Linked DNA regions of Homo sapiens: regions 1, 2, 3 and 4 are each linked to region 5. The links are contacts of gene promoters, found by promoter capture Hi-C in human tissues and cell types (Jung and others, 2019). All regions are on one chromosome and are shown on one strand. Each heading gives the region's core, a stretch centred on a gene start or on the middle of the fragment in contact. The rest is flanking DNA. Distances are from core to core; before and after follow the strand shown. Region 1 overlaps SAMD4B (sterile alpha motif domain containing 4B). Region 2 overlaps RYR1 (ryanodine receptor 1). Region 3 holds the start of ACTN4 (actinin alpha 4). Region 4 overlaps SAMD4B (sterile alpha motif domain containing 4B). Region 5 holds the start of FBXO27 (F-box protein 27).

Region 1 (2,700 bases), core at 90-2,589, 320 kb before region 5:
TGATTAATTATCAATGTTTGCCCTGGATGCAGGGTGGATGAGTGGTAGCTCACGCGCCTAAAAAAATCGGTTTTCCTTCCCAGCTCCAGCATTTTGTGGCTTTCAGTCCCAAAGAGGCAGCAGCTGCTTCAACATAAGGAAGAATTTTAAAATAACGCATCTGTCCAAGAATGGAACTGGCTGCCATGTGAGGAGGTAATAAGCTCCCTGGCTGCTGGAAGTGGTCAAGCGGAGGCTGGATGAACATCCCTCGGGAGTGGGAGGGATTCCTTCACTGGGTGGCAACTCATAAGATAGAAGGACATGTTACTATTTCAGAGGGAACATTTGTGACAGGAGGTTTGATATACCAACAGCATTTACAGCAAAAAAACGACCAAATCCACAAACAGACCAAAGTTGTGCACACTCTTTCCCATAAATTCTTTTACTGGGTTGTTACTTTTCCTAAGCAACAGCACTGTTCCCCCCCTCCACCCACCCAATAAGCTGCTGACTAAACATTAATCCAGCTTTTCCCCCCAGGCCAAACGATAGAAGCAAAGCTTTCGGACATAATAGGGTCTCAAACATGATGCTTACAAGGCCAGGCTTTGAACAAAGCAGGCCAACTGGGACTATGGTGAGTTGGAAAGTCCACACCCGGTCAAAAGGGAGAAGTCACTATCCACCTCTTATCAACTGCTACCATGAAGGAATGTGGGTCCAGTATTGTTACGTCTTAGGTTTTTTTTTTTTTTTTTTTCCCCTAAAGAGGAGCCAGATATCTGAATTTTAAAGTAAAATCCCCCCCTATTTTCAAATGTGGGAAACGAATCACATTGAAACAATAGTGAACAACTACACAGAAGAAGACATACCTGTGGTCCTTGGAACAGAAGAGCACAAACTAGAAAAAGACCAGAAGTCTGCTAACTATCCCTCCCTTGGGCCTCTCTGGTTTATACCTTCAAGCCACCCCACTGCTCAGGGAACATGACTGGTGGAGAAGATCTAGTGATGGAGGATGATTCTGACAGTCTTCAGTAAATACTGGAGGCTTTAGTGAAACAGTTACTTTTAAGATTTCACTGTTAAAAAAAAATCATCCCTGAAGGTAGGGTTCCTATGTCTTCTGGATGAGAGAAGGATGCTTTGTGTTCGGTCTAGATGTTAACTGGAGAGGACTGGATGGCCCTCTTCCATTAAAGGGCCAGAGGCCGCCTGCTACTTTCTATCCCATGTGCTTGGCTGAAGTGACAGAGGGAGACCTGGGTGAGGCATCTCACTGTGGCAGCATCTTACTGTATCCATTTCCATCTTCTAGTATCAACACCCTGGGTTCCCCTTGGAGAAGGAACTGTCTTTCTTGGCTCCAGAAGTGGACATGGGGTAAAGCCTGGCCAAGGATAGTCCTCTCTGGATTTTTGCTGGAACTACTAAGGAAAATAAGTTCTTGGTTAGGGTTGCTCAGATTACACATCGTCTCATGATGTCACCAGTTGCCACCTCTTCTATTTCACGGTGGAAGCCTGCTTCAGAATGAAACTAACAGATGACAGCAAAGTCAAGAGATGGGGGAGGGGGAAAGGGAGATCTGTTCACATGATTTAAAACCTAGATGCAGCTAGCCTGAAGCCTCCCCCTTGTGGCCCACTCTTTTCAGTTACATAGATGAATAAATTCGTTTTTGACTTAGGCCAGTTTGAGTTGGGTTTCAGTTAAAACTGAAAGAGCCTTGACAATTCCCATGCAAAACAGAATGCACTACTGGTCTGGTCTCTTTGTCCTCATGTGACCAAAAATGACTCCTTGCCTTTGAGGAAAAACACAAGAGGGGAGCCTCTATAACAGAAGTCTCTCCAACAGCCCAGCAATATTGCCACCATACTTGAAGAGGTCCAAGTGATCTTCTTGGGAAGCCCCTACCACCTCCAGAGGTGGGAAATGAGGTTAACAAAATGGCTAAGAGGGCTGGGTGCAGTGGCTCACGCCTGTAATCCCAGCACTCTGGGAGGCATGGGCGGGTGGATCGCTTGAGCTCAGGAGCTCGAGACCAGCCTGGGCAACACAGTGAAACCCCGTCTCTACAAAAATTACAAAAAAATTAGCCAGGCGTGGTGGCGTGCACCTGTAACCCCAGCTACTTGGGAGACTGAGGCGGGAGAATCACTTGAGCCCGGGAGGCAGAGGTTGCAGTGAGCCAAGATCGTGCCACTGCACTCCAGCCTGGGCAACAGAGTGAGACCCTGTCTCAAAAAACAAAAACAAAACAAAACAAAAGCCAAAGGTTCCAGATCAGCAGCCTGGGCAACATGGCAAAACCGTTTCTACAAAAAATCCAAAAATTAGCTGGGCGTGGTGGTGTGCACCTGCAGTCCCAGCTACTTTGGGAGGATCACTTGAGTTCTGGAGGTCGAGGCTTCAGTGAGCTGAGATCATGCCACTGCACTCCCACCTGGAGAAAGGCTGGGCACGGTGGCTCACGCCTGTAATCCCAGCACTTTGGGGGGCCGAGACGGGCGGATCACCTGAGGTCAGGAGTTCGAGACCAGCCTGGCCAACACGGTGAAACCCTGTCTCTACTAAAAATACAAAAAATCAGCTGGGCGTGGTGGCAGGCGCCTGTAATCCCAGCTACTCAGGAGGCTGAGGCAGCAGAATCGCTTCAACCTGGGAGGTGGAGGTTGCAGTGAGCTGAGATTGCGCCACTGCACTCCA
Region 2 (2,724 bases), core at 37-2,536, 450 kb after region 5:
AGGATAGTGGGGCACAGGCAGAGGGGTCAGGGCCGGGATGGATGGGGGGCACAGACGGAGGGATGAGGGCCGGGATGGGTGGGGGGGGGCACAGGTGTAGGGATCAGGGCCAGGATAGGGGGGCACAGGCAGAAGGGTGAGGGCGAGGATGGGAGGGGCACAGGCAGAGGGTCGAGGCTGGGGTGGGGAGGCACAGTGTGACCAGGGATGAGCTAGGGGAAGCACTGGAAGCTTTAACAGCCCGCTGGAGGCATCTGATCCAGCCTAGGTGATCAGGTGAGGCTTCCTGGAAGAGGAGGCAGGTGTGAGCTGAAACCTAAAGGAGGCCTTAGGTGGAGGGGTGGTGGGAGAGTGTTCCCAGCAGAGAAGGCCACATGCTGCCTCGCCATCAGTGAGGAAAGAGTACATCCTGCTGCTGTGAGGAACTGAAAATGGTTGGGTGAGGCTGGAAAATAGAGCTCCTGTGCAGGAGAGCAGGGAGAGATGAGGCAGGGCCTGGGCATGTGGCTCTGTGGGCCCTGGCCCAGCCCGCGGTCAAGGGGCTTCCTGTAGGATGTGGCATTTAAGTGGAAAGGTGAGGTATCAAGTGAATGGGGTGTGTGTGTATGTCAGGCCTGGGGTAGGGGACAGAGAGAACATCAGGTGCAAAGGGCTTGAATTGGGAGAAAACACACAGTCCTAGGGGAACTGAAAGAGGACCAGGCGGCTAGAAAGCAAAAAGCAAGAGGGTTTGCGGTTAGACCCAGGCAGGGCCAGCCCTTCCCAGGCTTTGTAAGCCACGGCAGGGTGATTCGACTTTATCTACAGTGGGCTGGGGAGCCACAAGAAGGGTCTGAGTGGGGGTGGGGAGGGAGCATGGTCTACCTGGCATTTGGGAACAACTTTACATATGTTTTTTTTTTTTTTTGAGACAGAGTCTTGCTCTGTTGCCCAGGCTGGAGTGCTGTGGTGCAATATTGGCTCACTGCGACCTCCACCACCGAGTTCAAGAGATTCTCCTGCCTCAGCCTCCTGAGTAGTCGGGAATACAGGTGCGTGTCACCCCACCCAGCTAATTTTTGTACTTTTTTCTTTTTTTTTTTTTTTTGAGATGGAGTTTTGCTCTTGTTGCCCAGGCTGGAGTGCAATGGCGTGATCTCGGCTCACTGCAACCTCCGCCTCCGGGGTTCAAGAGATTCTCCTGCCTCAGCCTCCCAGGTAGCTGGGATTATAGGCGCCCACCACCACATCCCACTAATTTTTGTATTTTTAGTGGAGACAGGGTTTCACCACGTTGGCCAGACTGGTCTCAAACTCTTGACCTCAGATGATCCACCTGCCTTGGCCTCCCAAAATGCTGGGATTAAAAGCGTGAGCCACAGCGCCCGGCATACACTTGTTCTTTCCGTGTCCCCAGGATGTGAGAGAACACAGTCATCCTAGAGTAAAAACTAAGATAAGTGACTATAATGAGAACGAGGCTGTGGGCAGCGAGGCCGTGTCTGGAAGAGCCTCAGATGTCAGGTTGAGGAGCTGGACTTTGTCCTGAGAGCAGGGAGGAACCCACGGAGCCAGACTGCAGGACATCTTTGGAGATAAACCCCAGAAATGATTCTTTTAATTGTGGATTGTGGCCTGTGTCTCTAGTAAGTTCGCATCAATTTGGGTTATGATCACCATTATTAGAATAGAAGAGAAAATATAAATGTGCATTGAACGCTGGGTATACCTTGGGTGAAACTTTTTTTTAAACTTGACACAGAGTCTCAATGTGTTACCCAGGCTGGAGTGCAGTGGCGCAGTCATAGCACACTGCAACCTCAAACTCCTAAGCTCAAGCAATCCTCTTGCCTCAGCCTCCCACAGTGTTGGGATTACAGGCGTGAGTCACTGCGCCCGGCCTGGGTGAAACTTTTAATTGTGGATAATGATGATAGAAGCTAACATCTATATAATCCTGAGGATGTGCCAGGCACTAGTCTAAGTCTTTTTTTTTTTCCTTTTTTTTGAGACGGAGTTTCACTCTCGTTGCCTAGGCTGGAGTGCAGTGGCGCAATCTCGGCTCATGGCAACCTCCACCTCCCGGGTTCAAGTGATTCTCCTGTCTCAGCCTCCCGAGTAGCTGGGATTACAGGCATGCGCCACCATGCCCAGCTAATTTTGTATTTTTAGTAGATATGGGGTTTCTCCATGTTGGTCAGGCCGGTCTCAAACTCCCAACCTCAGGTAATCTGCCCCCCTCAGCCCCCCAAAGTGCTGGGATTACAGGCATGAGCCACCGTGCAAGGCAATGGTCTAAGTCTTTTAAGTCTTCGATAGCCAGGGAGCACCTATTAGTCCTAAAAGCAACTACTATTACACACTCATTTTACAGGTGAGGCCCCCAGGGCATAGGGAGGAGGTTGAGTAGCCTGCCCCAAAATCACACGGCTCATAAGTGGCAGGGGCACGCTCCCTGAGTACCTTTCCAATAATAATAGTTTGAAAAGCTCAAATAAGGCCGGGTGCAGTTGCTCACATCTGTAATCCCAGCACTTTGGGAGGCCGAGGTGGGTGGATCATTTGAGGTCAGGAGTTCGAGACAAGCCTGGCCAACATTGTGAGACCCCCCCACCTCCATCTCTACTAAAAATACAAAAATCAGCTGGGTGTGGTAGTGTGCGCCTGTAATCCCAGCTACTCAGGAGGCTAACGCAGGAGAATCACTTGAACCTGAGAGACAGAGGTTGCAGTAAGCTGAGGTCA
Region 3 (2,700 bases), core at 44-2,543, 380 kb after region 5:
TTCATTTTCCTAAACGAACCTCTCTCCCATTATCCACCATTCCAGCTCACCCTCCCTCCCACCGATCTCACCTTCTCCCTCTACACTTCCTCATTCTCTCCAACGCTTTAGCTTTTCAGCTTCCCATCAATTCTTTAGAAATCCCTCCCCAAATTATCCCCACTCTCCGTATCCCCTCTACTTCGGCTTCTCCATCCCTCATCAATTCCTCTTATTATTCCTCCTATCTCTTAATCTTCTCCCCTTTGGAACAGGGCACCACAAATAAATCTCACCCCCTTCAAAAACGTCTGATTCACGGGCCCCTTAACTTCTTCCTTCCGCACCCCACCCTCCTCAGACCCCCAGTCCTGGCACCTCTACCCTCCTCACACCCTAAGCCCATGTCTTTTCATGCTCAATTCTACCCTTAGCCCCTGTTTTCATCTTCCCAGCCTCCCTAGTCTTCCCACCCGTCTTCAGACCCCACAATCTCCACTCCATCCTCACACTTGATTCTTCATCCCCTTTATAACTCCCCCAACCTGAGGCTCCCCCAATTCCAATCTCCTTCAGATCTTTCTGCTCTCCAAATAACCAACCCCTCCACACTCAAGCTCCTCCTCACACTTCCCAGACCCAGAAATTCCCTTCTCAGCCTCCCCTGATTCTCCTCCCAGCACCCCCAACCCATGCTCCGACCCTTCAAGCCCGCCTCGGATCCCAGTTCCATTTCAGCCTGCCCAGTCATCTCCTCGGTTTCCCCTAATGGCACGCCCAGACCCTCCAAATCCTTCATCAGCCTTCCCGATTCCTTTTATTTGACTCCCATATTCCCCACCCAGCCGCCAATTCTCTTTTCAGATTCCCAATTCCTTCCTCTAGCTCGGCGATTCCTCCTCAGGACTCCAATTCCCTTCCCGGACCCGCCAATTCCTTCTCGGGACCCCCCCGTTCCCATCACAGACGCTCCAGTTACCTTTCAGGACCTCCCACCCCTCCCCGGGCCCCCTCAGAAAAGCCCCTCCAGCCCGTCCGGCCCGCGGGCCGCGCACCTTGCGCTGCTGCTTCTCCCAGGCCGGGTCCAGCAGCAGGTCCCGGTCCCAGTCGTCCTCCTGGGCCATGTAGTCGCCCATGCTGCCCCCGCCGCCAGCGCCATTGCCCGCGCTGCTGGGGCCGTACTGGTACGACTGGTTCGCCGCGTGGTAGTCCACCATTCCGCCGCCTCTCGCTCGCCCACCAGCCTGTCCGCTCCCGCCTCAGCTCCCGCCCCTCTGCCCGAGCCGCCGCCGCTACCGCCGCTTCAGCTGCTTCAGCCCGCCCTCCGCCCGCGCCTGCGCACTGCCCGCCGCGCCTGCGCACAGCGCCGAGGTTGCCGCCCTCCCGCGCGCGCGCGCCTGCCAAACCAGAAAAGGCACCAAGGCCGCGCTCCGGAGCTTGGCGCCTGCGCAGAGTCCCGCTTCCTGGCCGCCCGACTCAGCCCGGGGGCGAGCCGCGCCCCCTCTCCGGCGTGAACGCGCGCGTCGTTCGCGTATGGGCGGGGCCAGATCATGAATGATTCATAAGGGCAGGCCCCGCCATCGGACCTGAACCAGCTCAGGCTTGGAATGCACTGCACCGGGTTCCCATTCAGCGACACAAATTCAACAAATATTTATTGAACACCTATTCTGTGCCAGACTATGTTTTACGCAGGCACTAAAAACAGAAAAAAATCCCAACTTTCATGAAACTACCTTCTAGTAAAGGAAGCCACATACACACAAATCTACTTTTATTTTTATTATTTTTTGAGACGGAGTCTCGCTCTGTCTCCCAGGCTGGAGTGCAGTGGCGCGATCTCGGCTCACTGCAACCTCCGCCTCCCGGATTCAAGCAATTCTCCTGCCTCAGCCTCCCGAGTAGCTGGGAACACAGGCATGCTCCACCACACCCGGCTAATTTTTGTATTTTTTTAGTAGAGACGGGGTTTCACCATGTTGGCCAGGCTGGTCTTGAACTCTTGAGCTCAAGCGATCCTCCCGCCTCAGCCTCCCAAAGTGCTGGAATTACAGGCGTGAGCCACCGCGCCCAACCAACACACAAATTTTTTTTTTTGAGACGGAGTTTCGCTCTTGTTGCCCAGGCTGGAGTGCAATGGCGTGATCTGGGCTCACTGCAACCTCCGCCTCCCAGGTTCAAGCTATTCTCCTGCCTCAGCCTCCCGAGTAGCTGGGATCACAGGCATGTGCCACCACTCCTGGCTAATTTTGTATTTTTAGTAGAGACGGGGTTTCTCCATGTTGGTCAGGCTGGTCTCAAACTCCCGACCTCAGGTGATCCGCCCACCTCGGCCTCCCAAAGTGCTGGGCTTACAGGCATGAGCCACTGCGCCTGGCCTCAACACTCAAAATTTTAAAAAATATGTAGACAGGCACAGGGGCTCACACCTGTAATCCCAGCACTTTGGGAAGCTGAGGCGGGAGGATGGCTTGAGCCCAAGAGTTCAAGGCCAGCCTAGGCAACATAACAAGAACCTGTCTCTACAAGAAATGTAAAAATTCACTGGGCATGGCTGTGTGCACCTGTAGTCCCAGCTACTCAGGAGGCTGAGGAAGGGACATCACTTGAGCCCAGGAGTTCCAGTCTGCAGTGAGCTGTGATCACACCAATGCACTCCAGAAGCGAAATCCTGTCTCAAAAATATACATAAAAGTAAAAAATAGGTAGTATTGTATATTC
Region 4 (2,700 bases), core at 116-2,615, 350 kb before region 5:
TCCCCTTTCCCTTATTCCTGACTCCCAAGTCTCACCAACCAGACCTGGGAGCGGAGAAGGGTGTGTGTTCGTGGGGAAGGGGACGTTAAGGCAACAGACTTCCTGACCTCACTGGCTACCCTGGCTGCCCACCTCCAACCTCTTCATCCGGGTAGCCAGGGCTGGAGGAAAATGGGTTAGAGCTTGAGGGTCTGGAGGAGGGGGCTCTGCCCTCTCCCCTCATAAAGTTCAGGCTCTCCCTGCCACTGTCTTGGCTGAGAGAGACCTGGGGATTCTAAAAATGAGAGGAAATGATCAGAGAAAAACCGTTAAGAACTATATAAATATGTATCTTAAATAGGCCTAAGAAATTAATCATAGAGAACCTCTGGTGAACAGGGCCAGGGGAGGTGAGAGAGAGGAAGGTGGCTCCTGTCCTTGCAGAATGTGGGGAATGGTGAAGGGGAAGCAGGGAGAGGAGAGAGAGCTTCCTCTCCTTGCTCCCCTTCCTTCTCCCCAGCTCCTCTCAATAACATTCTGGAGGGCAGGTTCTCTGCCCTGCGCGTCACCCCAAATGTCAAATGTTTCTGAGCAGGCTCCACAAGGTAGTGGTCAGTTTGTCTCTGGGGAGTCTGCTCCCTTGGGGAGAGGCAGGTGGTCAGCGGTCTGGAGGAGGCAGGGGTGGGATGGGACCAGGTGGGGATGAGGAAGGAAAGGAGAGAGGCAGGCAGTCTGGCCAGTCCCTGCCCCCTTTATCCTGGCTGCCCCCAACTCCCCGGGCCTCAGCAGAGATCCCTCGACGGGCCTGGGAGTGAGCAAGGCATGTGCCAATGTTAAACAAAAGTTAAGAGGGTAAGAGAGTAGAAAAATATTAGAATATATAGCTGAGCCAGCCCACCCTCTCGCTGTCGCGGAGAAGCCCGTTGGGGGTTGGCCCCCGCCCGCCGCCCAGGGAGCCTATGGGTGCGCTGGGCTGTGGGTCCCGTCAGATGGTGGAGGTTTTGTCTGTCCCATCTGTGGTAAGAAAGGGAGGAAGGGAGGAAGATCAGGAGCTGGAGGGAGGCCCAAGAAAAGGCACTCAGGTAGCCTGTCATCCCAGTCAGGCCCTCCCTGGAGTCTGGCCTCCCCTGGGGACCCCTCAGGATGACTCTGAGTTGCTCAGTTCAGAGGCAGAGACGCTGGGTAGGTGGGAGCTGGGTCAGGGAAAGAGGAAATGCTCACCACCCAAGGCGTGTTCTGTCATGCTCAGACACAGAGACTCCAGAGTGGGATTGATCTCCAGGTCAGGCCCAGGAACCGGGCAGTCTGGGTGGGAGAGAGGAGAATGGGGGTGGTAAGGACCAACTGGACTCAGGTGAAGACAGCTGGGATGACAAAGGATGCTGGTATGGGAAGGGAGCAAGAGAGATGGAGGGGGAGAGGGAAGAACGGGAGGAGGTGGACAGGGAGAGAGGCGAGCGTGTCACACAACAGGCAGAGGAGACAATGGCAATGGCAGAGGCTTGGCAATACAGAAAAAGCCCGACTTGCAGAGAGTGGAATTGAAACTGAAGGAGCTCCTGGAGGCCACACACAGCCTGCTGTGACTACTCTGGACACAGACTGCATACTGTCTTGAGCACAGTCTGGGCATCTGCCCTGGACACTGGGCAGCCCCCAAGGCTCCCTGATTGAAGACCTGCTCTGTACTTGGTGCAAAAGCTAAATCAAAACCCTTCCTGTCCCCACTTGGACCTGCTCCTCTGGGCAGGATTCAATCCAGGCAGGCCAGGCAGGTGGGGGCAAAGTAGGACAACCACCATGGGACTTGTCCTCAAACCACACTTCTCAAAAGGGCCTCCTATTCGGGCATCTGGGAAACCACCCACCTCCCTGGGCAGACCTGACCTCCCTCACTACACTGCTTAAACCCTTCCCTGACTCCTCACTGCCATCAGGACAAAGTCCGAGCTGTTTACCTGGATTTAGACGACCCAGCTCCCATCTCCACCCTCATCTCTCATCACTGTTCCCTCTGAACCCTGAGCTCATGTCGTATCAGATCACCCAATTGTCTCTCCTTAAAAAAAAGAATTTTTTTTTTGAACTTGGGCAAGACCTGTCTCAGATTGCTGACTGATGAATAACATCAGCGTCCTTACACATACAGTTGGGAGGAGTCAATCAGTGCAGGAGAGCTGTCTGACAAAGCCTGGGACACAGCATGCTGGTAAAGAGAATGGTTCTTGTTCATTCCTGCGGTTCATCCACCTGCTTGTTTAACATCATTTACAGATGCCTACTGTGTGTCAAGCCCTGTGCTAGGATGAACATGATGGATGGGTTCCCACGGCCTCAACAGATGGCTGTCTACACAACCTCATCAAGTAAGACTCCTGACTGACTTGGCAGTTTATGACATGAATTCTGCAAATCCATGCTCTCTCTAGAGTCAGCCCATTCCAGACGAGCCTTATCTGTCTCTGCAGCCCCAGTGGCCAGCACCGTGTGGAGGAGTCAACCCCTCACTTGTTGAGCAGGGCAGGGACCTGCGGTTAGCAAGTCTCTAATCTTCCTTTTGCCCACTTGTCCCAACATCTTTTTGAGATGGGGTCTCACTGTCGCCCTGGCTGCAGTGCAGTGGCACAATCTCTGCTCACTACAGCCTTGACCTCCTGGGCTCAAGCGATCCTCCTGCCTCACCCTCCCGAGTAGCTGGGACTACGGGTGTGTGCCACCATG
Region 5 (2,700 bases), core at 195-2,694:
AGGCGGAGGTTGCAGTGAGACGAGATTGCATCACTGCCCTCCAGCCTGGGCGACAGAGCGAGACTCTGTCTCAAAAAAATAATAAAATGTTTTATTTGGGAAGCAAGAATTGACATTCGAGGCATCCACACAGACCAGGCGGTCTTCAGAACTTTCAAAGAACAAAGAGGTTAGAGGTTTTTATAAGAAACAGAAATGTTAGGTATTGTTTTGCAAGAAAGTTCATTGACACTAGCAACGTTCTGGGGAGCTGGCAAGTTCTGACTGGTAAGTGACAGCAGAGGGAAAAACTAGTCTTAGAGTCACGGCAGGTTTTTTCAGTACCAGTTAGACTGCTTCCAGGTTACAACAGGCAGTTTTAACAGCCAGGCTTGCAGAGAATCACTTTCTTGGAGCAATGGTATCTGCCCTAAGTGTTTTCCCCCCGGCCTCTCAACTTTGTTTTAGTTGGATATGACAAGAAGGATCCAATTCACATGATCAACTTTCACAATTTTTTTTTTCTGTTTGTTTTTTGAGACGGAGTCTCACTCACTCTTTTGCACAGGCTGGAGTGCAGTGGTGCAATCTCTGCTCACTGCAACCTCCCCCTCCCGGATTCAAGCAATTCTCCTGCCTAAGCCTCCAAATTAGCTGGGATTACAGGCGCGTGCTACCACGCCCAGCTAATTTTTGTATTTTTAGTAGAGACGGGGTTTCACCATGTTGGCCAGGCTGGTCTCGAACTTCTGACCTCAAGCGATCCGCCTGCCTTGGCCTCCCAAAGTGCTGGGATTACGGGCATGAGTCACCGCACCCAGCCACAATTGTATTTTTATTGGACAGAGCTGATCTAGAGGTTAAAATGAGGAATTCCGGAGCTAGGCTGGCTGGATTCAAATCCCTACTAGCTGGTGATCATAGACAAGCCACTTGGCCTCTGCTGGTCTCAGTTTTTTCACCTGTGAAGTAAAGGGCATAACAGCACCTACTTCATGGGGTTGCCACCCTGGCTGGCAGTAAAACCGTCCATAAAAGTTGGCTGGTGTTACTATTGGTTGCATTAATTTTTAGCAGCCGGAGCCTGTTTTCTCCTGTGAAATGAAGATAACCACGCCCGACCTTAAAGGTGATGGAAATTTTTTAACACGTTAACGGATACGAGGCCTCCCACTCAGAAGCCTGACCAAAATAACAATGGTTGCTCAGAGCCAGACGTCTCATTGCTACTAACGAATTAGGGACACTTCAAGGGGCCGGCTGGAGGGGACGGCTGTGAGCAGCAGGCCTTGGCTCCTGGCTGCACCTGGCCCCGTCGCGGGAAGCAGGTTGGGTTTGGAGAGCGGGAGGGAGCAGGCGGGAGGGGCTGGCGAGTAAGAAAGAGGATGCAGGGGTGGGTGAAGCTGGCTAGTAAGAGGGGAGGGGCCGGCGAGTAAAAAGGACGCAGAGGGGCGTGGGGAGCTTGCGGCACAGCTAGGGCATCCCGGCGAGGAGCGCCGCCAGGCCCCGGGGTAGGACTTGGGGTGCGGTGTCGGTGCGGCCGCCGAGGGGGGCTGATTGCATGCAATTCGGGGCATACACACAGACCGCGGGGTCTCCGGGATATCGGGGCTATCAAGGACGGGCTGGGGGATGGGGACTTGGGGACGGGGCCCAGGGATGGTGAAGACGGGGGTGCGGCTGGCAGAATCAGGGCAGGCAGAGGCTGCGCGCCGCGGAGGCTGCTGGTCCCTGACGCCTTGACCCTTCCTCTCCCGCAGCCACAGCCGGGCCTGGCGGGGGGACCATGGGCGCCTCGGTCTCCAGGGGCCGGGCCGCCCGGGTCCCCGCGCCGGAGCCGGAACCCGAAGAGGCGCTGGACCTGAGCCAACTACCCCCAGAGCTGCTTCTGGTGGTGCTGAGCCACGTCCCCCCGCGCACGCTGCTCGGGCGCTGCCGCCAAGTGTGCCGGGGCTGGCGAGCCCTGGTGGACGGCCAGGCCCTGTGGCTGCTGATCCTGGCCCGCGACCACGGCGCCACCGGCCGCGCGCTGCTGCACCTCGCCCGCAGCTGCCAGTCTCCCGCCCGTAACGCCAGGCCTTGCCCCCTGGGCCGCTTCTGCGCGCGCAGACCCATCGGACGCAACCTTATTCGCAACCCCTGCGGCCAAGGTGGGATCTCGGAAGAGGAAGTCCAGGATGCTGGGCCACAGTGGGAGCGGTAGCGGGGCCGGAGGGGCGGGGCCGCACTGGGACCGGTACTAGGGGCCGCAGGGGCAGGGCCGCAGTGGGACCGGTGGGAGGAGTCGGAGAGGCGGGGCAGCATTGGGAGCCGGTGTGAGGTGCCGGAGGGGCGGGGCAGCATTGGGAGCCGGTGGGAGGTGTCGGAGGGACGAGGCAGCATTGGCACGCAGGGTGCAGGGCTGACTGGGCAGGGCTTCACCGTTTGCCTGTGGGAGGGGTGGGAGTGGGGCAGTTCTGGGAGCCCGAGAGAGGGGTTGGAGGGGCAGGGCTTTGCTGCAAATCAGTGAGAAGGGCCAGAGGAGCGGGGCTTTGCCCTGAGCTGGTGGGAGGGGAAGGGGGCGGGGCCTCGGTGGGAAGGGTCAGGTGAGTGAGCTGCACTGTGAGCACGTGGGAGGGGCTAGGGGCGGGGTCTCACTAGGAACCAACAGGCGGGCGACTGGAACTTGGGCACAAGCCTTTTTTATTTCACAGAAGGCCTCCGAAAGTGGATGGTGCAACA

What was found. Contacts are between HindIII fragments. The study calls those that stand out against the background at their distance.
Region 1: a fragment that was not itself captured here is called in contact with the fragment with the promoter of FBXO27 in region 5 in 3 of the 25 tissues and cell types used here (aorta, dorsolateral prefrontal cortex and heart left ventricle).
Region 2: a contact is called between a fragment that was not itself captured here and the fragment with the promoter of FBXO27 in region 5, in 1 of the 25 tissues and cell types used here (pancreas).
Region 3: a contact is called between the fragment with the promoter of ACTN4 here and the fragment with the promoter of FBXO27 in region 5, in 1 of the 25 tissues and cell types used here (dorsolateral prefrontal cortex).
Region 4: a fragment that was not itself captured here is called in contact with the fragment with the promoter of FBXO27 in region 5 in 1 of the 25 tissues and cell types used here (psoas muscle).

Annotation. Positions count from the first base shown.
Region 1 is chr19:39,350,535-39,353,234 of GRCh38, reverse strand. All of the region lies in intron 1 of SAMD4B (sterile alpha motif domain containing 4B), which reads right to left. Among named protein-coding and RNA genes, the nearest start is that of SAMD4B, 9.5 kb to the right of the region's middle. The HindIII fragment of the contact is 6,332 bases long and covers 1-2,700 here.
Region 2 is chr19:38,581,661-38,584,384 of GRCh38, reverse strand. All of the region lies in intron 101 of RYR1 (ryanodine receptor 1), which reads right to left. Among named protein-coding and RNA genes, the nearest start is that of MAP4K1-AS1, 13 kb to the left of the region's middle. RefSeq lists an enhancer at 227-476. The HindIII fragment of the contact is 5,920 bases long and covers 1-2,724 here.
Region 3 is chr19:38,646,242-38,648,941 of GRCh38, reverse strand. It overlaps ACTN4 (actinin alpha 4), which reads right to left and starts at 1,293. Exons shown (of 21, transcript NM_004924.6): 1 at 1,035-1,293. The coding sequence starts at 1,196. RefSeq lists silencers at 954-1,033, 1,264-1,453. The HindIII fragment of the contact is 19,413 bases long and covers 1-2,700 here.
Region 4 is chr19:39,381,792-39,384,491 of GRCh38, reverse strand. It overlaps SAMD4B (sterile alpha motif domain containing 4B), which reads right to left. Exons shown (of 14, transcript NM_001384574.2): 13 at 1,201-1,284; 14 at 1-993. The coding sequence ends at 965. Among named protein-coding and RNA genes, the nearest start is that of PAF1, 8.0 kb to the left of the region's middle. The HindIII fragment of the contact is 9,011 bases long and covers 1-2,700 here.
Region 5 is chr19:39,031,293-39,033,992 of GRCh38, reverse strand. FBXO27 (F-box protein 27) reads left to right here and starts at 1,444. Exons shown (of 6, transcript NM_178820.5): 1 at 1,444-1,490; 2 at 1,740-2,129; 3 at 2,673-2,700. The coding sequence starts at 1,766. RefSeq lists silencers at 1,666-1,735, 1,796-1,945, 2,146-2,225, 2,376-2,615, 2,465-2,647 and an enhancer at 1,557-2,349. The HindIII fragment of the contact is 13,585 bases long and covers 1-2,700 here.